5 separate regions of the Homo sapiens genome follow, and regions 1, 2, 4 and 5 are each linked to region 3. The links are contacts of gene promoters, found by promoter capture Hi-C in blood cells and fetal thymus (Javierre and others, 2016). All regions are on one chromosome and are shown on one strand. The core of a region is centred on a gene start or on the middle of the fragment in contact, and the rest is flanking DNA. Distances in the headings are between cores, read along the strand shown. Region 1 has its middle 27 kb from the start of MRPL36. Region 2 holds the start of MRPL36 (mitochondrial ribosomal protein L36). Region 3 holds the start of ICE1 (interactor of little elongation complex ELL subunit 1). Region 4 holds the start of LINC02226 (long intergenic non-protein coding RNA 2226). Region 5 overlaps CCT5 (chaperonin containing TCP1 subunit 5).

What was found. Contacts are between HindIII fragments. The CHiCAGO score rates a contact against its expected background, and 5 or more counts as called.
Region 1: a contact is called between a fragment that was not itself captured here and the fragment with the promoter of ICE1 in region 3, in 1 of 17 cell types (endothelial precursors). The highest score is 7.2, in endothelial precursors.
Region 2: a contact is called between the fragment with the promoter of MRPL36 here and the fragment with the promoter of ICE1 in region 3, in 4 of 17 cell types (endothelial precursors, naive B cells, neutrophils and 1 more). The highest score is 10.4, in endothelial precursors.
Region 4: a fragment that was not itself captured here is called in contact with the fragment with the promoter of ICE1 in region 3 in 1 of 17 cell types (total B cells); the score reaches 5.6 in total B cells.
Region 5: a contact is called between a fragment that was not itself captured here and the fragment with the promoter of ICE1 in region 3, in 1 of 17 cell types (activated CD4 T cells). The highest score is 8.3, in activated CD4 T cells.

What each region holds. Positions count from the first base shown.
Region 1 is chr5:1,770,298-1,774,646 of GRCh38, forward strand. No RefSeq gene overlaps it. Among named protein-coding and RNA genes, the nearest start is that of MRPL36, 27 kb to the right of the region's middle. RefSeq lists an enhancer at 1,427-1,926. The HindIII fragment of the contact is 2,038 bases long and covers 679-2,716 here.
Region 2 is chr5:1,797,734-1,802,026 of GRCh38, forward strand. MRPL36 (mitochondrial ribosomal protein L36) reads right to left here and starts at 2,104. Exons shown (of 2, transcript NM_032479.4): 1 at 2,059-2,104; 2 at 652-1,214. The coding sequence starts at 1,202. The coding sequence ends at 891. NDUFS6 (NADH:ubiquinone oxidoreductase subunit S6) reads left to right here and starts at 3,674. Exons shown (of 4, transcript NM_004553.6): 1 at 3,674-3,816. The coding sequence starts at 3,685. RefSeq lists a silencer at 1,574-1,983 and enhancers at 3,064-3,113, 3,174-3,303, 3,483-4,293, 3,914-4,053. The HindIII fragment of the contact is 7,489 bases long and covers 1-4,293 here.
Region 3 is chr5:5,421,427-5,425,681 of GRCh38, forward strand. ICE1 (interactor of little elongation complex ELL subunit 1) reads left to right here and starts at 1,251. Exons shown (of 19, transcript NM_015325.3): 1 at 1,251-1,573. The coding sequence starts at 1,490. It overlaps LOC101929200 (a long non-coding RNA gene), which reads right to left and starts at 703. Exons shown (of 6, transcript XR_001742583.3): 1 at 1-703. RefSeq lists enhancers at 1-497, 498-1,008, 874-1,123 and silencers at 1,154-1,483, 1,544-1,683. The HindIII fragment of the contact is 2,607 bases long and covers 1-1,770 here.
Region 4 is chr5:8,454,765-8,459,453 of GRCh38, forward strand. It overlaps LINC02226 (long intergenic non-protein coding RNA 2226), which reads right to left and starts at 2,800. Exons shown (of 6, transcript NR_039984.1): 1 at 2,685-2,800. It overlaps MIR4458HG (MIR4458 host gene), which reads left to right and starts at 2,923. Exons shown (of 2, transcript NR_039989.1): 1 at 2,923-3,002. It also overlaps the pseudogene LOC100419318. RefSeq lists an enhancer at 2,513-2,612 and silencers at 3,133-3,182, 3,193-3,252. The HindIII fragment of the contact is 4,676 bases long and covers 666-4,689 here.
Region 5 is chr5:10,260,605-10,265,208 of GRCh38, forward strand. It overlaps CCT5 (chaperonin containing TCP1 subunit 5), which reads left to right. Exons shown (of 11, transcript NM_012073.5): 7 at 188-307; 8 at 956-1,141; 9 at 1,877-2,014; 10 at 2,530-2,710; 11 at 4,052-4,604. The coding sequence ends at 4,179. Among named protein-coding and RNA genes, the nearest start is that of CCT5, 13 kb to the left of the region's middle. The HindIII fragment of the contact is 8,542 bases long and covers 1-4,604 here.

The sequences.
Region 1 (4,349 bases), core at 448-2,947, 3.7 Mb before region 3:
AAGCTCTGCCCTTCTGGGGCGAGCACAGCCCCGGCCAGCAAGCACCATGCGCTTTGGATGCTTCGGAGGCTCCCCATGGAGTGTTTTCCAGACACTTTTAATGTATTCAAGTTTTATTTTACAGAAAAGTGGTGGTTATGTGTGGGCCCAGGGGCTGAGACACTGCTTGCTTGTTTTATTTTTCCTTGTTTTGAGGCACGTCGTCTGGTTTTTCTAAGGAGCACTGAGAAGGGCTGGAAACCTGAATTCACATAACCCCCACCTCGCCGGGTGGTGCCTGTGTGGCAGCAGCAGCCGCTGTGACAGCAAGCACTGGTGGCAGAAAACCTGGACGGCTTCCTAGAGAAAGGTGAAAGTCAGGGCATGACACCCTGGCTGTGTCCTGAGGCACATCCAGCAGCCTCTCCTTTCTCCAGGCTTCTGGGGATGCCTGTTTTGTGAACACAAGTTCCCTTCACTGTCCATAGTGCAGGTTTCTGAAAAGCTGTGGGAAAAATCTTCTACATGTACATTTAAATATCAGATGGAGGAGACCTCAGTGTGTAATCAAACCTATCCTTTGTGGAAAAGAAAGAATTCATTTGTGAAACAAATCACCAGTCCCAAAGCATCGGCTCCATGACGCTGGCATTTTCTCTGCCACTCACTATGATTTTGACCTTGGACTTCACCTCCTCAAGCTTCAGTTTCTTTGTGGCTTGTTCCATAGTTTGTTCTCATGTGTAACTGTCTGGGGGAGAGGGGAGCTCCTCGGAAGGGGGAGATGTACTTTAGATGGTTGATGGTGAAAGAAAAGGAGAAAGTAGCTGATGATGATGCACTACTGACCCAGGGTGTTATCAAAGAGTCGGAAGGAAACAGAGCCCCAAAGTTGCCATTTATTAAATACATTGAACTTTACTATAGCAAATAAGAGGGTGCTCTTGACCTATAAAACAGGGATCATAATTTTCATCTCACAGTGTTTAGTGGGGATGATATGAGATCATGGAGCAATGACGAGTACACTCACATTTTTGTGGACATTCCGGTTGGTGTGGACTAGCTCATCCAAGTCGACAACTGAATTCTATGCCTGTTGTTTACAGTGCAGAATAACAATGTGCACCATGTAAATGTAAGGTGACACTGCAGTCATTACAGGATGTGATTGATCAAGATTCATCCAGCTGCTTAGGAAAGCAGGGGCAGCCCCATAGGAGGTCCCCTTGGCAGGGCTGGGAGCTCTGTCAGCAGCAGGACAGGTTATGGATCACAAGAGACTGGCCCAGGATCAGAAGGACCTCATGGGGCACATCCAGGCCAAGCACCCGGCTCAGATCTCAGCCATGTGAGGGCTCAGCTTTCAGGGAGGGCTCGCGGGGGTGAGGCAGGAGTGCAGGTGAGTCCTGAGAGCTGCCGCACAGCGCCGAGGTTGTAGTAGGAGGAGCTGCAGGATGCATGCTCTCAGGCTTGTCACCGAATCAAACCAGGTCCGTCTGCCGGCACACAGTGGAAAGCCGAACACCGAAGCACTGGGTTTTGCAGCAAGAAAGATTTTTTGCGAGTCGACTGGCCAGGAGACAGGAGGAAGTGCCCAGATCTGCCTCCCCGAGCTGGGGTTGGACCAGGTCTTCCAAGTATGCACTAATGAGCTGTGCTGCCATGGGGCTGATGCTGGGGCTCCACTGATTGGATCCTGGATCCTCATTCGGTCCCCGTTCCCCAGCCCCAGCACTTAGGTTCCCCCATGTTGCACACGTGGGTTGTCTGGGCATGCTCAGGTTATATGACCTTCAGCCTGGGGGTCCACGGCAACTGAAGAACAAGTCACAACTCCATTACACGGATGTTGAACCAGATTGGCCAGATGTGGCTATAAGCTGGGCATGGTGAATCCTGCCTCAGCCAGAATTATGTGCAAAGTTGGAAATGAATGTGTTGCCATGGGCTGAGCCCACGTGGCTGCCGGGTTCTGGGGGACGTGGACCCATTTTGTGTACGTGGCTCATGCATCTTGCCAAAAGGTTCACTGGTGTGGTTTATCCTCAGCACATGTCCAGGGAGGCCAAGTGCAGTCACTCCACAGTGCTTTTCTGAGCCTGCAGAGCCATTGCCACACCCGGGAGGCCTGGACACCCGCAGCCCTCATCAAATCAGTTCTCACACCTGGGCCTTCATTATTCTCAGTCTGTGTCCCATGTGCCACACAGGTGGGTTGCTGGGAGTTCAGCTGCAGACACTCCCGGGTGCAGTGTTCAATATGAGTGAGGGAAACTGAAAAAGGAAATGAAGAAGGGGAAGGAGTAGCTTCTGGGACCTGTTGGATAATGACTGTCCCTTAGATCCAAATCTGTCCACATATCCTCTATAAAAGCACAAAGAAAGCAAACAAAACCACCCCCAACCAAACAGAACACAGAGAACAAATAACACAAACTTCAACTGACACATAAAAGATGAAACAAACATTTGAACCCATCAGAGCTGGCGAGGGGGCCCACAGCAGAGCAGAGTGAGTTGGAGTGTGCTTGGAAGACAGGAGGGTTTGCAGTGCCCACGTGTAGGAGGAAACCCATGACATTCACCAGAGGAGACGTCTGCTCCCCGAGAGAGGGAGACAAAGAGGAGGTCTAAGGCAGATCAGAAAGCTGTGCTGGGAGCTGAAAGGACGATGCTTGGAATATGCACAGGACCCATGGATGCAATCCTGTGGACAACTGTCTGGGGAGAGGAAAGCTTCTTGGAAGGGGGAGATGCCGCTTTGATAAGGGCGCTACTGACCCAGGGTGTTATCGAAGAATCAGAAAGAAACAGGCCCCCAAAGTTGTCATTTATCAAACAAATTGGACTTTACTGTAGCCGATAAGAGGGTGCTCTTAAACTAAAAAATGGAGTAAAACACCCAGACTCCCTGCACAAGGCATCAGCTACCACTGGTTCAGGAAAATCTGACACAAATAATCCTGAACAAAATAAGAAATCAGCGTCCAGCCATAAAAATTGACTATAAGAGAGCCAAAATTGAGAATAAGAATAGAAATTTCAGCAGGAGAAAAACCTACCTCAAAAAATCCTCAAAGCTAATGAAAAGTGTACCACAACCCTCCAAGATAAACAAGCAATTGCAGATTTAAAAGGTCATCACAAATCAGAGGCTCAAAAACTCAGAATACAAATAGATAAATACTGGAAGGTATAAAATTACAGCTAGCAACATTCAAGTAAGAAACTGAAGAAAAAGACAGAAATCATAACAGAAAGTAAGGACAAATTATGGGGTGCCCAAGGGAAAACATATATAACCAAAAGCACAGTAAGAGACTTAGAGAACAGAAATAAGAAGATACAAATAAGAAATTAAAATGAAAATAAAGGAAATTAAAAATATGAGAAAATAATAAATATAAAAGCCTGTCAAAGAATATACAACACAGATGCAACTGGAGTAAATGAAGACTAAATTAACACAATGGAACAGAACTGATATTTAAAACTATAATTCTGGCCAGGAATAGTGGCTCATGCCTGTAATCCCAGCACTTTGGGAGGCCGAGGCGGGCGGATCACCTAAGGTCAGGAGTTTGAGACTAGCCTGGCCAACATGGTGAAACATTGTCTCTACTAAAAATATAAAAATAGCTGGGCATGGTGGCGTGCACCTGTAATCCCAGCTACTCGGGAGGCTGAGGCAGGAGAATAGCTTAAACCAGGGAGGAGGAGGTTGCAGTGAGCCGGGATTGTGCCACTGCACTCCAGCCTGGGAGACAGAGTGAGACCTCATCTCAAGGAAACAAAAGCAAACAAACACTATAATTCCATACCTATAATCTCAGCACTTTGGGAGGCTGAGGTGGGAGGATCCCTTGAGTTCAGGAGTCTGAGACCAGCCTGGGCAACATGGTGAAATCCTGTCTCTAAAAAAAATATAGAAATTAGCCAGGTGTGGTGGTGCACATCTGTGGTCCCAGCTATTTGGGAGGGCTGAGATGGGAGGATGGCTTGAGCCCAGGAGGCAGAGGTTGCAGTGAGCCAAGATTGCACCACTGCACTGCAGTCTGAATGACAAAGCCAGACCCAGTAGATATATATATATTTTTTATATACTTTGTTGATGAGATCAGATTCATGGGAACTTGCGGACAGTGATGGGAAAAGGTGTCGGGAGCCTGTGTCACACCTGGGGCCCATCGAAGTGACCGAACAGCACTCCAAAGGCATGAGCACTTCTCAGTATGGAAATAATTCCTCAGTTTCCAAAAAATCCACATTTGTTTTTCTATGAATGGTGGGATTTTATTTAATTATATTTTATTGTTCAACCCTGTCTGTGTTTTGTAAGTTTTCTGAATTTAATTCTACCTATTGAA
Region 2 (4,293 bases), core at 854-3,353, 3.6 Mb before region 3:
ATTCATGTTGATGACAGTGCTCCCCCAAGGCATGGGGCTCACTCAACTATGAATCCCGATGACCAGGGAAGGACCAGCCCACTCCATCCCTCCAAGTCCTTACCAGTTGTAGGTGTGGTCATCCTCTAGCAAGGGGAGCTCCTTGCCTCCCCCTGAATCTGGGCTCACCCTAGGGACTGAAAGAGTGCGGTAGAAATGACACGCTGGAATTTCTGAGGCTGGGTCATAGGAAGCCTCGTAGCATCTGCTTGGGTCTCTCGGGACACTCTCGGGAAGCTCACTGTGGGGCAGTGCAAGCCACGCTGTGGGCCCTGCCTGAGGAGGTGCTACGTACAGCCTGAGGAGCACTGAGACCCCAGACAGGAGAGCCGGTGCCATCTTGGAAGTGGGTCCTGCAGTTAATGCCACACAGATCAGACAAACTGCTCAGCTGAGCCCATCCCAAATGCCTCACAAAATCGTGAACAATGTAAAATGGCTGATTTAAGCCACCAAGCCTTGGCTTGTACAGCGACGGGTGACCAAAACACCACTTCTTCCAAGAGGCTCTAAGCAGCCTCACGGAGACATAGAGAAGTCCTGCCCAGCCTCACCCAGCACCATCCAATCCCTACCTGCAGCCTGAGTTCAGAGAGAATGAATGAACTAAGCTATTCGGAAGGTCTATTTTAATAGGAAAATGTTTTTTAGTTGGAACGTTTTGGAAATAAGATAACGCAATGTCTTCTATAGTTACTCATTTACACTGAAACGTGATGGGTAACTTTTAGGGCGTTTGCTTCCAGTCACTTTCCCCTGACTCCTTGATGTGATAATTCCTTCCATAAGATACAACCATTCTCCCAAGTGATGCGATGACGAGTATGTGCGTGACTCTGGAGGGAAAGGGTCTACATCTGTCTCTGCTTGTGCCTCGGATGGGTTTTACAGTAGACGTACCACCGACCCCGCCTCTTCACCAGGTAACAGTCCTTGCAGCGCTTCTTAAGGACAGTCTTGTTTTTGAACCCCAGCGCAGGCAGCAGATGGGGCAGGAGGCCGGGTGAGAGAAGTGAGCGCACTGCTGCCCCGGGTTCCACAGCCACGGGGGCTGCACCTCGAATGGATCCAAATAGAAATGTGGAGAGGGCTCGAGGCTTCACCGTGTGACGACTGAGATAGAGCAGAGGGTTCACCATTTTCCTTATAAAAAGATTTGCCATGTTGTGGTGAATCTATGGGAGAGAGAAAAAAAGGAGTTATAGCTTCTCCTGCACTTCCACCTGCTCTTTAAGGCTTCCTTTTCTCTGTTTCACTGAGGCTTGGGAAGGCAGGGACCTCGGGGACTGAGGGTGTTCCCATACCAGCTGCAGCCTCGACCTGAGCTTGAACACTGCCTTAATCAGCCAAGTGTGCCAGGAGAATAAGGGGCAGTGGACGGTGGCTTCCTTCCCTTTCCCGCCTGCTGCAAGTGTAGGTGAGTGTGCAAAGCCCTGCGATGTTGAGGAGCCGCTCACTTGGCTGGGAGGGAGCTTAAACTTAGGCCGCATCCCTTTCCAAACAGACACCAGGTCAAGGACGGTTCAACTGATGAGCTCCTCCCTCCAACTCTTCCCAGACCCAGGGGCCCTCCCTCGGGCCAGTTTCGGGACAGGCCCCCGCTCCGGAAGAGCACGGAACTCTGGCACCCCGGTCGCCCGCCCCTGCTTCCCCACGCGCCCCGGCCCTTAGGGTTCAGCGGCCCCGGCTGGGAAGAGCTGGGCCTGCAGGGCCCGGAGGACACTGCGGCACCGGAGCCGGCCCTGCGCGCGGGCTGTGAGGTCGCGTTCGGGAGCCGCCAGTTCTCCCGCCCCGGGGTCGCTGGACACCCCCTCCTGTCGCCAGGTCGGGCGCCCACGGTCGGACCCGCACCCCCCAACCCTGGCCCTCTGAGACCGCCAGGCCCCGGCCCACGCTCCTCTGACCGCAGCCCACTCGGGGAGACACGCCCGAGGGTCCCAAGGTGGCCGGCCCCACCCTCTCGCAGCCCCCACTCTCAAGACACCCGGGACCCCTGACCTGAGAAGACGGCTCCCTTACCCGGCCGCACGCTCTCACCCGGCGCCGACCCCTGCGTCTGCGCACTGGCACGCGGACGCTGCTGCCAGGAAGGAAGATGGCGGCGGGGGGGGGGGTCACGTGGCGTGCCCACGTCCAGTGCGGGGCGCAGAGACGCAGCAGCGAGTGCGCAGGCGCTGGAGTGCGACGTATCACTCCCCGACTGCGCGCACTCTGCGGGCCACCGGGATCGTCGTGCTGTTTGGAGCGCTCTCGGGAAAAAAAATGCAAAAACCAGGAACGAAAATGGATATCCGCAACGAAAAAGAAATTACAACCACTTAGGCCTTAGAAAAAACTGGCAAATACCAATGTCAAAACAAACTGAGAAAGAGGACATGTTTTTAAGTGGACAGGAGAAATGTAAACAGGCTCCGGGAAACGAGTGGAGACGGGCAGTAGTTTCAACTGGTTACGGCTGTTTTCCCCAACATTATGAAAAACTTCGGACATAGAGAAAAAGGGAAAGAACTGTACGGTGAACACCCATATACTTGCCACCTAGATTCTACCCTTAGCTCGCTTATCCCTGCCTTTTCAGGTATCTACCCGTAACTCCATTCGCCTTCCTTTTTGTGTGTGTCCGGGTGAGTTGCAGACGTGGCTGCGTCCACTCCGCGCTCCCTGCAGGCCCCAACGCTTCATCGCAGCGCCCACTTTTTCCACCTGACCCGGCGAACACCGGGCGGGCCGCTGGAGTTTATCAGCTCCAGGACAAATCTGCCTCTGACCACCACGTTTGCTGGGACATCTTTGGGACCGGAGGTTTTCATGTGCATTCTTGTTTCTCATGCCTTTCCTCCTCTTTATCATCTTCCCCGCCACTCATCCATCTCTAGTGTTTTGTTCTTGGAGTCACGTGGTCCTCAGGCTCTGACCACAGCAAAAGAAAAGCTGGATGCTGGAGCTTAAGCTGGGATTTATACCCAAGTCAACTCTAAGCAAAACGGGCCTTTTTAGAGGCTGTATTTGCATGCTGTAAAATCAGTCGGTGTACTAGGCTTTGTTGCAGAAATCCCCAATATACGTTTCCTCTGCGGCTCCCCGTAACCACACACAGGAACGCTTGCCTTGAACGAGGAGAATGCACTTCCAGTCTCGTCTGCTAAGCAGTTGACTCCTTCACCCAATAATTTTGATATTTAAATGTCTCATGATTATCGGTTACCATAAGAATATAAACAATGTATTTTCAGTTTACATCCTCCCCTGCCTGTCCGCTAAATAAGAACCACTGGGTACTCCTAATCGCTGAAGGTTTCGCACACCATTGCCTGCCTCATCAGGGCCCTAGCTCTAGCCTGCGGCTGCAACTGCATGAGGCTGCACCTGCCGGCGCAACGGGGCCGCTTAACTTTTAGGCCATTGATGAAAAGTCAAACAAGCGCACAGTACTCGGTGTAATCAGGGGCATTTTTAGCGAGATACCTGGGATGAAAACGGGTGACCACCTGAATCAGAGAGCAGCTCCGGCGCACCCTCTGCCCCGACCCGCGCTCCCCGCCCCCAGGGCGAAATAAATACCGGGTGTTTGGCGCCGCCAGAAGCCGTGCGCATGCGTTAGCGCTAAGCGGGACGTTGCGCCGGGTCAAAGGCCAGCGGCGCAAAATGGCGGCGGCGATGACCTTCTGCCGGCTGCTGAACCGGTGTGGCGAGGCGGCGCGGAGCCTGCCCCTGGGCGCCAGGTGTTTCGGGGTGCGGGTCTCGCCGACCGGGGAGAAGGTCACGCACACTGGCCAGGTAACGGCCGCTGGGTACAGGATGCACCTTCCTCCAGCCGCACCTCGGGCGACTGGTGGCAGTGGGCTCGCCGGGCATCCGCGGCCCTGGTTCTGCGCCGGCAGCGCAGGTCGTGGTAAGGTTGTGCTGTCGCTCACGCGCCGGGGAGGACGCCCGCGAGTCGGGACGGTGGTGGCAGCCTGTAGCGGTGGGTCTCGTCCTTCCAGGGCCTGCGGGCTCTGGAACGGGAAGTCTCCCCAGCGGGCAGCACTTGCTGTGGACTGGCTGCCCATAGGCGATTTGTGGCAGCCGATTATTTGGGTCAGAACGTTTAGAATTTGTGTAATATTCAATAATAAATTTTAGTAACCTGAGAAGTCGGTTGTAGTCCAAGGCACAAAAAAGCCCTAAGCCAAAATGAAGAACAAAGGTACCTGTGTATACTGGAATGTGCCCTAGTAGATTTAATGGGGGGATAGTAAAGCTCTCAGGCCATAT
Region 3 (4,255 bases), core at 1-2,500:
TCTATCACCGGCAGGTCCTCAGTTAGGTACACGCCTGTCTTGCTTGGGTGTCAACGACAGGAAACTTAGCTATCGCTGGATGTCTGCTTCCGCCACTCCACAGCAGGTGGTATCCAGAGTGTGTAAGCAAGGTCAGGGGTGCGAAATTTGGAGAAGAAAACTCAGAGAAAAATGCAGACTGCTTTTTTTGGAAGGGGTGTTTTCAGTTGCAATTTCCATACTGAGGAGCTAGAAATTGGCTGGTAAGGTCTAGACATTAACTTAACTAAACGTGCATTCCTCCTCTTGAATTTGGACTTTATAAGGAATTTGGATTGTATAACCACACGATGGAAGCTGCGAGAGGCTTCTGAACAAGGTACTGACGGCGACCAGCTGTGATGACTAAAAAGACGATTCTGGTGGTGGTGGATACGGTGGCTGGAGATAAGAAAAACCTCGGTTCAAACGAGATCTGAATTTACCCACTAACTACGACCACGAGGAGTTTATTCCTTTATCTTTCCGTTTTCTCTCTCTCCCGAGAAGTGTCAAAAACAGGATTTGGAGGTGGCAGGATAATGGCCAAAATGGGTAGACAAGGTGGCGAACGATTCAACCAGGCTCTGGGCTTGGCGCATGGTGGGCGGTGGCGCCCACACCTGGGCCTGGGAACCCGCCGCTCGGGCATCACTGGCTGCCGCGGCGACCGGCGAGGACACATGACCGAGGAGCGAAAGGTCAGAAGACAAGGGGACTGTTACAGGAGCAGGGGAGCCGCCACTGGCTGCTAAGGCCGTGCAACTGGCGCCGAAGCGCACGATCTCCGCCCGCCCCGCAGCGCGTCGGGAACTGTAGTCCCTCCCTCTCCTGCTCCCTGGCCCAGGACGGGCTCCGGGACAGCGCCTATCCCTCTAGCTGTAAATCACGCACTTTCCTGTCCTGGACGCCGGGTCCTTCCACTTCTCAGGCGTCTGGAGCTTACGTCACGGGCGGGTCACCGCCCACATAGCGGAGGCCTTTAGGTGTCTATGGAAAGCCTGTCGTACAGCAAGGTGGCAATAAAGGATCGACCCTTAACAGTGGTAGGAATGCACCTTCGATCCTTCTACTCCTATTGGCTGCTCCTCTGTGGGCGTCTCCCCCGCCGCATAGCACAGCTCCTCTCCCGGTGTTGCTCAGGCAGCGCCTTAGGCAGCCCCGCGCCCAGGGGAGGGGCGGGGCGAGCCAGGGCGGGGCGGGGCGAGCCAGGGCGGGGCGGGGCCCTGACTGGACTGCGTCGCGCTCGGGGGCCGCGCCGGGTAGCGTTTCTTTTTAGTGCCTGAGGCAGCTCTGGCTCGGAGAGCCTTTTGCTAGCCCCACGGGGACCTCTGTGCACGGATGGACCCGCCCGGACCTGGCGGGAAGCGGCCTGGCAGGCGGCGGCCCCGGCGGCATCAGCAGAGACAGGACGGGGCCGACGCCGCGGGCCCCTGAGGCGTGCGTGCCCACCGGGCCCGGCGGCGGCACCATGATGCCGGGCGAGACCCATTCGGCGGCGCCCGGGACGGCGGCGGACCTGTCGCGATGTCAGGGCTGCGCCTCTCTGCAGCAGGTGCAGCACCTCCCGGGGCCCCGGGCGCGGGGGGGGACTCGGCTCGGCCGGCCGGGAGCGCAGGGATGTGGGGTCCGGCCGCGCGGGCTGTGCCTCAGTGCGCTGCTCTCCCTTCCCAACCGTAGCTCTTGCTCGCTCGTCTCTCTGCTCTCTTTTTCCTACATGAGTTTTGGGGACGGCTTTCTTTGCTTTATTTAAGCTTGAAACCCAGAGTTCATTGACTGGAATGCGCTGGTGTAACGGTGGGGGTGGAGTAAGCGAGGTTTGGAGGGCCCCCCACCTTCCCTACCCGGCCTCGGAGCTCCCTAGGGCAGACTCCGTAGGTCAGTGAGGGACAGGTGAAACGCCGAGGGCAGTTATCTCCCTGAGGATAACGCTTTGGTCTTCTGGCCCATCCTGAGTATTTGTTGTTTGGAGGCAGAATCTTACGTGACATGTGGGTTGTCTGAGTCTTAGACTCGAAGAGTCTAGGGAGGCGTTTCAGCTTATAGCAGATGTGCCATCCCGAGGCTAATTTTTTAAAAAGCAAGCCAAGTAATTGGTCAAGTAGCTTGTCAGTTGTTTGATAAAAGTAGTTTATGAAAGGCATGCAGAGACTGGAGGTTTCTAACAGCGGCGTGGGCTCTTCTTTAGAGTGACATAAGGGAGAATTGCTAGAGTATGGCTCCAGATCTTATGGGGTGGTACTTGGGCAATAGTGCCCCTCATTTCCCACGACTCTCCTAGCTGCCTGATGTCGGGGGTCTCTTTTAACTTCCTACTATCGCGGTTTCAGTGATAAAACGGAACTCACCAGCACCTCATTACCTACTCTGCCTAGTGTTCTAGGAACTACAGACATTGTGGTGAACAAAATAGGATCTCTCATAAGTAAGATGCATATGTGTGAATAAGGCCTCAGAAGATTTTAGGTGTTAGAAAATAAAGGAGGATGTTGGAATATTGGTCTTGTCTCTTAGCTAGAGTAGTCAGGTAGGGAATTTTTGAGTCAGTAACTTTCAGATATTTGAATAATGGGAAGGATCGGGCTGTCAGAAGAGATGTGGGAAGAGCTTCCTGGATAGAGGGATTAACAGGTGGAAAGGTTCCTTTGGTGAGAAGGAGCAGGGTGTCTTTGATGAGCAGAACATGGTATGGTTGGCATGAGCATAGTGCACACGGAAGATGGTTGATGAGACCAGACGGGAGTGCAGGCTAGGTAGGCCATGCCGAGAAACTTGGTTTGCATTTTAAGTGCAATATCTGTGAACTGATTGCAAACATTTTAAGTGTTGAAGGAAGGGGAGGAAGGAAATGTGCTGCTTTTGTGAGTAGAAGGAGAACTAACAGATCATTGCCTTCACTGAGCTGCATTGTGTAGGTATCTTATAACGCCCCCCCGCCCCCGCCACCACCACCCCAGGAACGTGATTGGAGTTCTCCCGAATCTTTAATACATTGTATTTATTATTCGAGCCAATTCACTCAACAAACATTTATTGATCACCTGCCGTATTTTAGACACTGCAATTATGGCATTAGGGGAGAAAAAGACAAAAATTCTTGATCTCTTGGAGCTTCCGTTCTAGGAGGGTGGCAGGATAAATGAAACAAATGAGTTATGTTAGAGGGTAATGAAAACGTTGTTGATGAATTGAACAGAGATGGGGAGGGAATGAATGGGTGAGGACTAGGCCAGTGGCTGTTGGAATTTAAGTAGGGAGTCCTGGAACGTTTATATTGGAGCAAAGGTGAGAGAATAATAAGCTCTGTAGAAATCTTGGAAGAAAAGTCTCCCATACAGTGGAAACATCAGATGTGAAGAACTGTAGCAGGAGCTGGCTTGGTGTGCTTGGGAAGAGCAAGAAGGCCAGTGAAGCTGGAGCGGAGTGAATGCTGGGAGTCAGGAAGGTAGGAGGAGGGCCTGATTGTGTGGGCTCCTGTAGACCATTGTTGGGGTTTGGGCGATGGAAATGGTGAGTCATTGGAGGCTTTTGTGCAGAAGAACTACTGATGTGAACTGTGCTTTTCAGTCATGGATCTGTTATGGTTAAATTTAGCAACTGTATTCTTCTGGTTGCTTAGGCCAGAAACTAGATGGCATCCTTGGTGCAGCTCTTTTTTTCTCATAACCTGTATCCAGTTTATCAGATTGTGTCCGCTCTGCCTTCATTATTCACCCACTTTTCAACATCTCCACTGCTTCCACCGTGGTGTGAACTACTCTAATGTATGGCCTAGAAATTGAATCTCCTTCCTTCTACCCTTGCCACATTTCCTGCTGTGGGTTCTCAAAACATCAATAAGAGTAATCCTAGATCCAGAGGTCTGCAAACTTTTTCTGTAAGGAGCAAGATCACAAGTATTTAGGCTTTGGGGACTTGCTCAGAACTGCTCAGCTCTGCCATTTTCATGTGAAAGCAGCTGTAGACAATTCACAAAGAAATGAGTATGCCTGTGTTCCATTGAAACATTATAAACACTGGAGTAGGGCCTTAGTTTACAGAGTTCTTCTCTAGGTCAGGACACTATTGCATTTGGATTTTCTGTGGCCTGGAATTGGATTACCTTTTTAGGGGAAAGTTACGAGTAGAGTCTCTGGAGGAATTCTGTAGTTGTGCAAAGTGAGTCTAGAAAAATAGGTTCCTGGCAGTTTATAGAGAACCTTGAATGGTAACCATCATAAATTCTTGTACTTATTTC
Region 4 (4,689 bases), core at 1,754-4,253, 3.0 Mb after region 3:
TGCTGTCTAGGACTTCATCTGACATGCTTTATTGTGATATTCACTTTATTGAGGTGGTCTGGAACTGAACCCCCAATATCTCTGACATATGCCTGTAATTTGCAAGGGGGAAAACAACTTTTTGCTATTACATTCAAAATGGATTTTGAAAGAGTCAGTTTTCTTTTTTCTTTCTTTTTTTTTTTTTTTTTTTTTTTGAGACGGAGTCTTGCTCTATCGCTCAGGCTGGAATATAATGGCACAATCTCTGCTCACTGCAACCTTCGCCTCCCGGGTCCAAGCAATTCTGCTGCCTCAGCCTCCCAAGTAGCTGGGACTACAGGCACATGCCACCATGCCCGGCTAATTTTTGTATTTTTAGTAGAGATGGGTTTCACCACATTGGCCAGGCTAGTCTTGAACTCCTGATGTCGTGATCTGCCCACCTCGGCCTGCCAAAGTGCTGGGATTACAGGCGTGAGACACCACCCCTGGCCCAGGAGTCAGTTTTCTATATCACTTGACTTTCTTTGCTCAGAAAGTCCAGCAACATGTTGCTCTAGGTCTTTGTTTAAAAAAATGTTATTGTGCCCAAAGTATTTAAAAATTTCTAAGACTTAGTATCTATTTCCTTATTAGAACTAAGAAAAAGAGAGCTCACAGGTAGTGTCTGATCAAAAACCACAAGCTTGCTGCACACTTGGCCTATTTAGGATTCAAGTTAGAAACTGTCAACTGAGAGATGTTAATTATCTTCTTTTTAAAAGTTGCTTGTAGATCCACTGTTTTAGCCCAGAATATTTCATAAAATGACACTGATACGTTTTGAATATATGTCCCCACCAAATCTCATGCTGAATTTTAATCCCCAGTGTTGGAGGCGGGGGCTGGTGGGAGGTGTTTGGGTCGTGGAGGCAGATCCCTCAGGCTTGGTGCTGACTTCCTGATACTAAGTTCCTGCAAGATCTGGTTGCTGTAAATTGTGGCACCTCCCCACCACTTTTCTCTCTTCCTCCTGCTGGCCTTCCACCATGAATAAAAGCTCCCTGAGGCTTCCCCTGGAAGTCTAACAGATGCCAGCAGCATGCTTGTACAGCCTGCAGAACTGTGAGCCAATTAAACCTCTTTTCTTTATAAACTACCCAGTCTCAGGTATTTCTTTATAGCAATACAAGAATGGACTAATACAGACACATCATTTTTTTGTGTGTGGTAAATTCTTCCAATTTCTCACCTTGCATTCCCAGTGCTGCCCTAACTGGACCTGGGGAGTTTCATCATACTTTCTTCAATACAAAGATTGTGAATACCTATGAACTCTTTTAAGACAATTTGTATTCTGCCATCAGGCTTCCTAAGCTACCTTGTGGATCCACATGCAACAGAATCAGAACTTTCAAAGCAGTCACCAAACATGTAACTGACAACTTAAAAAAAAAAAATTCAAAATGAAATTAACAAGCACCAAGGGTGTTATTATTCTCTTATATTTCTTTTAGCAGCATTCCATCACTATCTGCTTCTTCCACTTCAGAAACCTGCAAAACTGCTGTAGAATATCAAGCAGTTGTTCTAGTGAAGTCAATTATTTTTTAGCTCACTGCAAAACATCTGTTGACCCACGTTTTAGTCTTCTGTTCACTCTCTTCCAAGTATGTACTTGGGAAAACAACAGGACATCAACCAGGCAAGCTCATTACCATTTTCCACAGATAAATCTTTACAGTCGGTGTGAAAAATCTCACCCTGAACTATGGTGGCTGTAGTGAAAAGAACCATGGACAGACACAAGTATGACTTGTGAACATGATTCATAAAGCACCCAGAGCCCCAGTGTGGCAACACCAGATGAATGAAAAAGGTTCTACCATGTTATCAAAATCATGTCATTCTCACTTTCCCTCAACAGTACCTAAATTTTAAAAAGAATATAAGCATAATGATGAAATACTACAAAAGTATCAATTGAGATCACACTGCACTCAATGAAAATTATCCATGTTTATGAAAATAAAGATCTGTATCCAAAAAAATAGCAAAGTGTCCACAATAAATTATAAACACCAGGACATCAGGGACATTGATCTCTATATCCCAAAGCCTAGAAAAGTGCCCAGCACCTAATAACAATACTAACTTTTGAACATTTCACCACGTGCCAGGCACAGTTCTGATATGCTCCATGTTTCAACTTAAGGCTTACAGGCCAGGCTTACAGGCCACCAGTGAATCTATAAAGTTTCAGTTTATATATGAGAACTGAAGCACGGGATTAGATAATATTCCGAGACAACACAAATTAGTAGCAGATGGGTTAAACTCAGGCCGCGCATGTCTAGAATATGCACACTTACATGCTTGTTGAAAAAACTGTGTTGATTAGTATCAAACTAGCTTTAGAAAATAGAAGTTAAAAAAGGCAATAGACTTTGGCAAATTATTTGAGTAAAACGTCAAATGTCAGATATGTCGAGGCATGGGTAGCCTTCTAAGGGGTCACGTCTATGGAAGGAAAAAGTTTGGCTTAACAAATAGGAAAGTGAGAAAAAGAATGAAACAGTAAAATAACAGGATCTCGTGATGGGGAAAAGGCGGCCTGCCCAGACCTAAACGCCTCGCGGCCTCGCAGGCGACGCGGGGATGACTCAGCAGGACAGAAGGGAGGGAAGCTCCAGACGCCACGGCCCTCTTCGAGATGAAAGTACCTCCCATCCTAAGGGACTGGCGTTCCAGGAACAGCTGCGCTGGCTGAGCCGGCTCAGTGAGGCGGAGCGGCCAAGCCTTCAGTCCACTCCCACTCCCCGATGAAAAACCCAAGACCGGGTAGCGCAGCCCCTCCGCGCACGCGTAACACGAGGAGACACCGCCCACACGCCAGACGCGCTGTGATTGGCCCCAGCTACCCTCGGACCGAGATTCCTATTGGTCCCAGGTGTCGAGCATGCGCACTTTGGTCGTGGGCGCGTGTGTGGAATGGGAGGAGGTCGCGCTGTCCATGGGCGTCCTTGGCCTGCGCCACCCAGGTGAGCGCTCCGGAGGCTGCGATCCCCGGGTCCCGACCGCCCGCCTAGCACTGGCCTGATGGGGAAGCGTCCCGGGACTGGAAGGGCAGCCGGCTTGCGCGCGTGGTTCCCACGCCCCTCGGGCTCGGGGGATCGCTCCGGGTGCTGGCTGCGGGCTCGGCGGGGAGGACCCCGGGAGCGCGTCCCTGGGCCCCACGTCGGCCTCTGCGCGGGCAAGCCCCTGGGCTCTTTGGCTCTAGACGCTTTCCAGGCCTGGGGAAACCGCATGCGTGGACGTGGGAAACGGGGCGCGTGACGGGGAGGGGCGCGCCCCGGGGGCCTGTGGTCGTTCCGAGCTTCCACCTGGCCCGACGCAGGCATGTGCCCTGCCCGCCGCGTCGTCCCTGGGCCTGCGGGGGCTGGGGCCTCAGCTGAGAGTCCTGGGAAGGTGGTGCTGGATTGTGGCTCTGTCGCGGGGATGAGGGGTTGATCTGGGAAGCCCTCAGGATGTGTGTGTGGCTCCTGGAAGGTGACGCACATTGTTAGCTTCAGTAAGGTTTTCAACACCATGTTTCCGCAGAACTTGGTCATAATAACTATATCGCCTTCTAATAGTGCTTTTGGGGAGTTACTCATTTTAACAGCTACTACGTGTTGAATGTCCTCTTGTTTGCCAGGTGCAGTTCTCATCCCTAGGGGTGGAGAGTTGAAGAAGATATATTCAGTTATTTTCTTTTTTAATGCTTGAGCTAACAATGATTTTATCCTTTGCTTTCTTAAAGGTTTAATTTGCTCTTAGGTGGACAGAAAAGCATAAACTGAATTTTAACTACAAGTTGGTCACAGTTGAAAAGCCTCATGTGTGGTTTGAGTTTTAGCTTAGATCTCTCCTTACATGTCTTTCCTGACAGCTCCTCAGATTTAGACAGTGTGAGGATCAAAACTGTATGAAGGTGCTTTACTCTTGATAATCTGTGAACGTCAACTAGGAAAATTTTGAGTGTATTAGAAATGTTTTTCGAACTCTTTGAGAGTCTAGGCAATTTCACTTGGGTTCTGTGATTAATTTGCAAAGTATTAGGATGAAATCAAGAAACCTGCAGTTTTAATTGAATTGACTTTGGTTTTGTTTCTCAAAAAGTGGGACAACAAAAATACCTACTTAAGACTACTGTTTCAGGCACTGTCTAATTGCATTCATCAGATCTTATTATATTCATTCCATGAGGAATCGAAGACCTATTCAGTCAAGCAGCAGCCCAAGGTTACACGTCTAATAAAGGGCACATTCCCAGATCAAGCCCATGTAGGCTGACTCTAGATTCTGATTTTGAACTGCTCTGTTTCTGAATTGGAGTTTAACTCCTCTGTTACCCCTAGATTAATGGTGAGTATTTTCTCTCACCCAAGTTAATTCCATTAACTCTAATCAGAACCCTAATTTAGCATATTTCCAGTACAGTAGTTGCGGATCCATCCTACTCTAGAGTTTTTGTGCTATGTGTTAACTGTCTTTTATAAATGAAGGGACGGCTTCCTCTGTAACATACGGGAGCATTGTATAATCTTTGAACAGGCAAAAGCATTCCAGAGAAAAGATAGATGAATTTCATATATTTTTATTAAAACAATTTTATTAAAACATAGATAAATACTGGATTATTTAAGCAAGTTGCAGTCTATGTAGGTTAACCACTAAGCTATGCTT
Region 5 (4,604 bases), core at 1-2,500, 4.8 Mb after region 3:
TCACTATTTAGAATTTGGAACTGACAGAAAAGTGGACACTTGTCTATTTCCTTCCTTCTCTTTCCTTTGCTTTTGTGTTTGAGTGCACCTGCCTTACACCCAACTGTGCCTCTCCTTTTTTCAAACATTGTAATGAAGAATAAATACCCACTTTCTCTTAATACGATTGTGGTGGTTCTTTTCCCAGATTAAAGAGACTGGTGCTAACCTAGCAATTTGTCAGTGGGGCTTTGATGATGAAGCAAATCACTTACTTCTTCAGAACAACTTGCCTGCGGTTCGCTGGGTAGGAGGACCTGAAATTGAGGTAGGATGTTCCACGTGAAGAGACTTTGAGAAGTAGGGGTTCATCTTATGTGTTGAGGGGTGTTTTGATAGCCCTGCCTTAAATAACTGCATCACACCAAGGCTGGCAGATGAGGGGAGGGTGAGCTGGGAGAGAGGAAAGCGCTGGAATCTTTGTTACTGTTTGGATAACAGTGCTGTGTGTTTCTGGTGTTCCCTGGCATTTTGAAATTCTCTCCCTGTGTTGTCTCACTTGGCCCTGTCGTTGACTTACTAAGGCTGGAAGACCTGGTCTCATCCAAATACTAATGGCAGTCCCAGGCAACGGTGCCTCGGTGGTTCTCACTGCAGCGCAGTGCAAGGAACATGCAGGCTGGGTTCCCAGAGTGAGGGAGGGCTGCACAGATGGGAGATGAGGGTATGAGCTTAGGGGACGGGCGCCGGGTGATAGATCTGGGCAGCACCAAAGCCCCAATCAAGACGTCCAGCTCAAGAGCCTTGTTACCTAGCAAGGTGCTTTGGGTTGAACTGGAGATGTCTCGGTCAAAGTGGGGCAGCAGTTCTAGTGAACAAGTTGGTCTTAGATCAAGTTTTGCTCATTTGTGGCCCAGTTTTGAAAGTTAACTTCACCAGTACTGTCTTCATCCTTCTCCCTGACCACCCCAATTAGCTGATTGCCATCGCAACAGGAGGGCGGATCGTCCCCAGGTTCTCAGAGCTCACAGCCGAGAAGCTGGGCTTTGCTGGTCTTGTACAGGAGATCTCATTTGGGACAACTAAGGATAAAATGCTGGTCATCGAGCAGTGTAAGAACTCCAGAGCTGTAACCATTTTTATTAGAGGAGGAAATAAGATGGTGAGAATTCAACTATTTGTCCTATACTGTTGCTTATTTTGCTTCATGGTCTGGCTTTTTTGCCTGTGTGTATTTAACAGAGACACAGTCACCATAAGAAAAATAATCGTGGTTCTCAAACAATGACGTATCATGGTGTAAAATTACTGAAGACCATGTTAAATTGTTAATTTCACAAGGCACATTTGCCTTTCTGCTGTCCCTTAGAGTATACAATATACACTATGAGATTTTTATATCTTTTTAAATACTTAAACACAGTTTAAATATTCAAGTCCTGGATTTTAGAATGTTTGATACAGTTACATTAGGGGTTGGTTAAACTGCTAGCCCTAGCAACATAAGACTCATTTTAATTACAATATGGTATTATTACCAAGGATGACTTACATCTGTCCCTTAGGTAGAAAAAGGGAACCCAAGTGAATAACCATTGACGATCTCTGTTCTTTGAGAATGAGTTTTTAGCACATTGTGATAAATCTTTGCGAGTTTTGTCAGTTTTTGACTCTTGCTTGACCGTGTATCCTAGAATGAGTCACTGGCCGCCTCTGCCTCTTGAATTTTGTTAACTACATTGCAGGAAGGAAAGCTAGAAAGATAAATATTATCCGATAGTGGAGGCCATCTAAATATTAGAGCACAGCCTCTCTGTCTTTAAAAAGGTGCCAGATACTTGGCTCTAAATTGACTAGATCTTGATCACATTAATTCAGGCAAAGCTGTTTTCCTTAGATCATTGAGGAGGCGAAACGATCCCTTCACGATGCTTTGTGTGTCATCCGGAACCTCATCCGCGATAATCGTGTGGTGTATGGAGGAGGGGCTGCTGAGATATCCTGTGCCCTGGCAGTTAGCCAAGAGGCGGATAAGGTAAGGGATCTGTGCAGACTTAGTGAAAGATTCAGGCCTCGCTGATGGTGGAGACTGTGAAGCTGCGGAACAGCGAGGTGCTGGATGCAAAACAAGCATCGTGAGCTGTGTGTAGGTGACAGGTGTTTTAATCTAAGTTAATTCCCACGTTCCTGTATTCAGATTCTGGTTACCATAACCTAGCATTTCTCAGCTGTTTTCAGCCAGTTCGTCCTTGAAATAATAAATCTATAGTCTTTTAATGTTATTTGAAATTCAAAATTAATATTATAACTTAAAAATAAAGCCATAAGAGCTGCTGTATTTTGAGACATCTCTCACATGTATGTATACCCTCTGCCTGTATTCTGTGGTGACATTATAATATTCTGATAGATACAAAAATAAAGACAGCCTGTTCTTACAATTCTTTGTGAGCTGACTTTTCAAAGTATGTGATACAGTTGTGTTTTCACGGTGCCGCTGGGTTGTTTTGTTTCGCCAAGTGCACTCACCATACTTCTGTACCTTTCCAGTGCCCCACCTTAGAACAGTATGCCATGAGAGCGTTTGCCGACGCACTGGAGGTCATCCCCATGGCCCTCTCTGAAAACAGTGGCATGAATCCCATCCAGACTATGACCGAAGTCCGAGCCAGACAGGTGAAGGAGATGAACCCTGCTCTTGGCATCGACTGTTTGCACAAGGGGACAAATGGTGAGGAGCTGTCACGCCTCTGCGTGGAGGGGGGGGGATGTCTGATTTAAACTGAATAATCATCCACTGTATGTGCTGTGAGATGATGGTGTCTTTTTAAATATGTAAGCCCACTTCAGGTGTTCAAGTCCTGAATTTTAGAATGTTTGATTGCCGTAGGAATTGGTTAGACTACTAGACCTAGCAACATGAGACTCATTGTAATAACAGTAAAGTGCATATGGTACTATCACCAAAGATGACTTAGGTTTTAATCTCTGGTTTTTGGGAAGTAATGCCTTATTGCTGTTTTTACACAGATGTCTGTCAGTGGGCAGCATATATATAACAGCTCTGAAGTGGGCTTTAGTTCACAGTTCACTGTGTGGTTAATCCTGCACACTGTGGAGTGTTTTCTAAATGTAATATATAACCTCTGTAGCCACTTGTGTAGCTCGGCTCCCAAAAAGATATGGTGGCTGTAGCTTGTTGAAACAGTGGTCTCAGGCATTTCTGTACTAAATCAGGCCATGTCTGTAATCCATCCACAGAATGACAGCTTTTGCTTAAAGGTATAGGTACATTCTGCTTTCCATGCTCAAATTCCAAGGGTTTCAATAGTAGCAACTCTTTGTGAGGCAAACATTTAATGTTTCTAACTTGAATGCCTGGTTGTGCTCAAATTTAGCATTTCTAGGGCCGGGCGCAGTGACTCATGTCTGTAATCCCAGCACTTTAGGAGGCCAAGCCGGGTGGATCACCTGAGGTCAGGAGTTTGACACCAGCCTGACCAACATGGTGAAACACCATCTCTACAAAAAATACAAAATTAGCCAGGCCTGGTCAGGGCAGGCACCTGTAATCCCAGCTACTCGGGAGGCTGAGGCAGGAGAATCGCTTGAACCCGGGACGCAGAGGTTCCAGTGAGCTGAGATCGCACTGTTGTATTCCAGCCTGGGTGACACCTGTCTCCAAAAAAAAAATTAGCATTTCTAGATCTTTCTTGGAAATATCTTACATTTCAGCTGTGGTCAGATGGACTTACTTTAGATTTCCTAAGTTAGGGTATGGATACTTTGTGGGATAAGATGTTCCTGAAAAATGTCACCCTGTAGCTAGTCATTGAAGACAGTGCCCTCCCAACAGCTCTCTTTACCAGGTGCGAGTTCCAGAGTGTCCTTGGAAGTAATGAAATTACATTCATCTGAAAATGAAATATAACTGAAATTAGTGGCTTCCTGCTTGGCTTCCAGGAGTTTGTATTTCTTAAGTCTTACTGTGATTCCCTAAATCAGAAAGAGTTGGTTATTGATAGTTTATTGTATGCTATTTTAGGATAATCAGTGTCCTTGTATTTTTCAGATATGAAGCAACAGCATGTCATAGAAACCTTGATTGGCAAAAAGCAACAGATATCTCTTGCAACACAAATGGTTAGAATGATTTTGAAGATTGATGACATTCGTAAGCCTGGAGAATCTGAAGAATGAAGACATTGAGAAAACTATGTAGCAAGATCCACTTCTGTGATTAAGTAAATGGATGTCTCGTGATGCATCTACAGTTATTTATTGTTACATCCTTTTCCAGACACTGTAGATGCTATAATAAAAATAGCTGTTTGGTAACCATAGTTTCACTTGTTCAAAGCTGTGTAATCGTGGGGGTACCATCTCAACTGCTTTTGTATTCATTGTATTAAAAGAATCTGTTTAAACAACCTTTATCTTCTCTTCGGGTTTAAGAAACGTTTATTGTAACAGTAATTAAATGCTGCCTTAATTGAAGGGGTTTGGGTGGATTTTTTTTTCTCAAAATAAGCTGTAGGGACTATTTTAACAGCTTAAACAGGAGCTCTCAAGATGCACTTTCATATTGAGAGGAATATGGGCTTGATCCTCTTCCTATCTAAATG